2 separate regions of the Homo sapiens genome follow, and region 2 is linked to region 1. The links are contacts of gene promoters, found by promoter capture Hi-C in human tissues and cell types (Jung and others, 2019). All regions are on one chromosome and are shown on one strand. Each heading gives the region's core, a stretch centred on a gene start or on the middle of the fragment in contact. The rest is flanking DNA. Distances are from core to core; before and after follow the strand shown.

Region 1 (2,563 bases), core at 45-2,544:
TAATAAAACCCCATTGAGTGGCTTCTGTTTACTTTTTAAATTTTTTAATTATAATTTTTTTTTTTGAGACGGAGTCTCACTCTGTCTCCCAGGCTGGAGTGCAGTGGTGTGATCTCAGCTCACCACAGCCTCCACTTCCTGGGTTCAAGTGATTCTCTTGCCTCAGCCTCCCAAGTAGCTGGGATGACAGGTGAACACCATGACGCCTGGCTAATTTTTTTGTGTATTTTTAGTAGAGATGGGGTTTTGCCATGTTGGCTAGGCTGGTCTTGAATTCCCAACCTCAGATGATCCGCCCACCTCAGCTTCCCAAAGTGCTGGGATTACAGGTGTAAGCCACCGCACCCAGCCAAATTTTCAATTTTTTTTGAGACAGGGCCTGACTCTGTCACCAAGGCTGGAGTGCAGTGGTGCCATCTCAGTCCACTGCAACCTCTACCTCCCAGGCTCAAGTCATCCTCCCACCTCAGCCTCCCCAGTAGCTGGGACTACAGGTGTGTGCCATTGTGCCTGGCTAATTTTTGTATTTTTTGTACAGGAGGGGTTTTGCCATATTGCCCACGCTGCTCTCTGACTCCTGAGCTCAAACGATCCTCCTACCTCAGCCTCCTGATTTGCTGGGACTACAGGTGCAGGTAGCTCCTGTTTTTAAGTGCTTTATTCTGTGCCAGACACTGTACTAGTCTCTTTACCTACATTATCTTATTTGATACAGAGGAAACTGAGACTCAGAAAGCTTATGCTAATCTGGCCAGGTGCAGTGACTCAGGCTTGTAATCCCAGCACTTTGGGAAGCCTCGGCAGGCGGATCACTTGAGGCCAGGAGTTCGAGATCAGCCTGGCCAACGTGGTGAAACCCTGTCTCTACTAAAAATACAAAAATTAGACAGGTGTGGTGGCGTGCACCTGTAATGCCAGCTATTTGGGAGGCTTGAACCCAGGAGGTGGAGGTTGCAGTGAGCTGAGATGGCACCACTGCACTCCAGAGTGAGAGACTCTGTCTCAAAAAAAAAAAAAAAAAAGCAAGCAAGCTTATGCTAATCTAATCTATTCGGCAAATATTTATTTACTGCCTTCTGTGTGTTAAGCACCAGGTTCGCACTGGTGAAAAATCAGACATGGGCCCTGCCCTCCTGGAACCTATATATAGCGGGGATAACTTGCCCAACTAGAAAGTGGTAAAGCATATATTGTTGTCACTGCTGTTTTTAATTAATTTGGGGTACACAGAATATTTTGTTGTTCATGATATCCTCTCCTCATTGGCCTATATATATGGCTCCCACTTATTTGTTTTTAATAATGATAATTAAGCATCATTTCTAACCATCCATCCAATAGAAAAACTAGAACCTTGACAATTACTATTATTTTATTTTATTTTATTTTATTTTTGAGACTGAGTTTCGCTCTTGTTGCCCAGGCTGGAGTGCAGTGGCACAATCTTGGCTCACTGCAACCTCCACCTCCCGGGTTCAAGCGATTCTCCTGTCTCAGCCTCCCGAGTAGCTGGGATTACAGGCACCCACCACCATGCCCGACTAATTATTGTATTTTTAGTAGAGATGGGGTTTCACCATGTTGGCCAGGCTGGTCTCCAACTCCTGACCTCAGGTGATCCGCCTGCCTCAGCCTCCCAAAGTGCTGGGATTACAGGCATGAGCCATTGCCCCCAGCCAACAATTACATAAAGTTACACGATGTGCTACCCAAGTTTCTCGTGGGTATATAAGTGAGAAGTGGAGTTGCTGAGTCAGAAATTATGTAATTTGACCTGGCATGGTGGCTCACACCTGTAATCCCAGCACTTTGGGAGGCTGAGAGGGGCAGATCACTTAAGGTCAGGAGTTTGAGACCAGAGTGGCCAACATGGTAAAACCCCGTTTCTACTAAAAATACAAAAATTAGCTGGGCATGGTGGTGGGCACCTATAGTCCCAGCTACTTGGGAGGCTGAGACATAAAAATTGCAGAGGTTGCAGTGAGCTGATTGTGCCACTGCACTCCAGCCTGGGCAACAGAGTGAGACTCTGTCTCAAAGAAAAAAAAAAGAAATTATGTAATTTGTTCATCTTTATAAGTAGGTGTTAAACTGTGTCCCAAAGTCATTATCTCAGGTGGGGAACAGTGCCTCACGCCTGTAATCTCAACACTTTGGGAGGCTGAGGTGACAGGATCACTTGAGCCCAGGAGTTTGAGGCCAGATTAGGCAACACAGTGAGACCCCATCTCTACAAAAAATAAAAAAGTTAGCTGAGCATGGTGGTAAACACCTGTAGTCCCAGCTATTTGGGAGGCTGGGGTAGGAGGATCGCTTGAGCCCAGGAGGTTGAAAATGCAATGAGCTGTGATTGCACCACTCGACTCCAGCATGGGTGACAGGGTGAAACCCTGTCTAAAAAAAAAAAAAAAAAAAAGTAATATCTCAGTTTATACTCCCACCAGCAGTTGTAACTGGTTCTTTTTTTTTTTTTTGAGACGGAGTTTCGCTCTTGTTGCCCAGGCTAGAGTACAATGGCGTGATCTCGGCTCACCACAACCTCTGCCTCCCGGGTTCCAACGAT
Region 2 (2,563 bases), core at 25-2,524, 460 kb after region 1:
CTGCCCCTGACAGGGTCTTGCTCTGCCCAGGCTGGAGTGCAGTGGCGTGATCTCAGCTCACTATAGCATCAAACTTCTGGGCTCAAGCCATCCTCCTGCCTCAACCTCCTGAGTAGCGGGGACCACAGGCGTGTGCCACCATGCATGGTCTTTTTTTTTTTTTTTTTGTAGAGATGAGGTCTTACTATGTTGCCCAGGCTGGTCTCAAACTCCTGGGTTCAAGTGATCCTTCAAACTTGGTCTCACAAAGTCCTGGGATTATTACAGGCATGAGCCACCACTCCCAGCCTCAAAATATCTTATTGTACTGTGTTCAACTATTTTCCAAGCGGTTGACCATAGCTAACTGAAACTCAGGAAAAGGAAACTTTGGATAAGGGGAGACTGCTGTAATAACATTGTCTTTGAAGGCTTTTCAGTCCCCAACTCTCCCTCCATTCACCCTAAAAAAAATTGAACCCAGCTGGGAACTGGACCCCAACCTAGGGTCCCGGACCACCTCAATCTTCTCTGTGCCACTGTAGTGAGCTCAGCAAATTGAGGAGTTAATGGCCAGAGTGTCAGGGGCAGGCTGGAGAAGGAAGGTAATTTTTCTGCTCTCTGCCCTGCAAGTTTCTTCCTCAAATTGCTGAACAGAGAGCACTGACCCAGCAGGGCCAAAGTGAGGAGGGGTGACAAATGTCTAAACTGCTGATGAGATGCTGGAGACCAATGTGCTGGGGTGGGTGGGTCGTGGGTAGGGAGGAAAGGAAACCTAGAGATGGGAATAGGAGCAGTCTTCACCTTGCCCCTGGGCCATGGGACCATTACTCTCTCTGCCACCTACCTCAATGCCAGCAGCCTGTTTGTACTAGACCAGAGCAGTGCAGGTAGGGCTGACTCGCAGGTGAACTCAGTGAGCCCAGAATCCCAGGTTTGGGAGGGACAGCCTTTTGCTGTAATACAGAAATGCCACCCGTTGGTGCAGGTGATGACCCCTCACTCCCCATGGGCACGTTAGGTAGGAACATACGTCCGGCATCCAGGCACAAAAGGGTCTTGCGGCAACACCCCGCGATCTCAAGAGCACCCAGACAGAAGGAGTGGAGGCAGGTACTGATAGTTTTGTTGCCCTTGAGGTTCGGAGCACAGCTGGACACCAAGGCCCCCTCCGCTGCCCAGCTCAGCAGCCCTTCCTCCCCAGCTTCTTTACCACCCCCAGTCTCCTTACCGGGTCCAGTGTCTTCAGCACTGCAATTTTACCAGCCCAGCTCTGCGAGTTCTCGAGAAGGGGCGGGGCCAGCGCCGTTATGTCCGGCTGCAGTAAGTGACCTCTCACTCCCCTCAGCTTATCCCTCAGCCATTGGCTGGAAGCGGGTGGCTCAACCATTGGCTGGAACCCGCCTCCTGGAGCCGAGACAGGCAGGTTGCTAAGAAGCCTGGGAGAAGAGGCTGGCTCTTTTTGCTGTCACTCTCGCCAACAGTCCGGAGTCCATTATACCCCTGGTGTGCAAAGAATGGGACCCTTGTGCACCAGGGCTGTATGTCCGGAGCTCGGGCAGTGTGGAAGGTGACAAGGAATCCAAAAGTTGGGCTGACAGGTGGGAGATTTTGAGACACCCCTGCCGCCCCTCCCTGGAGGAGGCCTCGGGATCCAGTCCGGTTTTCCCCGGCTGTGATCTCCACTTTAAACCCAGGGTAGACCTACCTCTATCTACTCTGTTGCAACTACAACTACCCTGTTTATCTTTTAGGGAAAGCAAAGTCAATCGCTTAGTTCTCGTATTCCAGGAATGATAACAGAAATGCCTAAAATAGTGGTTCCAAGAATTTGAGATTCCTTGGGCTAGTCGAATTTCTCCCCAAACAAAAATGAAACAACAACACTGAATAGCCGTCTTTTATTTTGCGTAGAAAAAAAAAATAATAATCGCCCCTTGGTGGCACACGCCTGTAGTCCCAGTACTCGGGAGGCTGAGGCGGGAGGATCGCTTAAGCCCAGGAGTTCGAGGTTGCACTGAGCCAAGATCGCGGCACTGCACTCCAGCCTGGACAACAGAGCAAGACCCCATCTCTTAAAAAACAAACTGCCCCTTAACAAGAGCAATGGCAGCTTAACACCCCGAAGTATGAAGGTTGTAGTCTCTTATCTCAAAGTAAGGGGCATAAATATAATACATTTCCTATTACCCTTTTGTCATTTGATGCAGGACAAAATTTATCAAACCTAGTCCCCCAATCTGGACAAATGTATCCATACACTGCCCTCTAGAGGCCGGACGGTGGAGCTGCAATTTTAATCAGTTTAAGTGAAGGTGTTCACCTTTAATTTTGAAAGATCATTTCCTTTCCTTTCGGCTCTCCAACTAGAGCTTTTACCAGGAATCAGGGAACGGGGGTGGGGGGTATTACCAAGAGATATAAGGTAAGGGAACCGACAGTGAAAAGTTGGCAAGTTGGCTTTGGCTCTTAAGTGTTTGGAAATGGAAAGGATTTCAATCTGTATACAATCAAATCACTGAAGAAGGCTAATGCCCAACCTATCCTACCAGTTGTTAAAAAAAAAATATATATATATATATAT

Evidence for each region. Contacts are between HindIII fragments. The study calls those that stand out against the background at their distance.
Region 2: the fragment with the promoter of SUOX here is called in contact with a fragment that was not itself captured in region 1 in 1 of the 25 tissues and cell types used here (aorta).

What each region holds. Positions count from the first base shown.
Region 1 is chr12:56,456,550-56,459,112 of GRCh38, reverse strand. It overlaps a transcript of MIP not described here. Among named protein-coding and RNA genes, the nearest start is that of MIP, 3.2 kb to the right of the region's middle. The HindIII fragment of the contact is 6,307 bases long and covers 1-2,563 here.
Region 2 is chr12:55,995,987-55,998,549 of GRCh38, reverse strand. It overlaps SUOX (sulfite oxidase), which reads right to left and starts at 1,274. Exons shown (of 5, transcript NM_001032386.2): 1 at 1,211-1,274; 2 at 827-935. RAB5B (RAB5B, member RAS oncogene family) reads right to left here. Exons shown (of 6, transcript NM_002868.4): 6 at 1,867-2,563. RefSeq lists a silencer at 1,225-1,414 and an enhancer at 1,000-1,500. The HindIII fragment of the contact is 9,188 bases long and covers 1-2,563 here.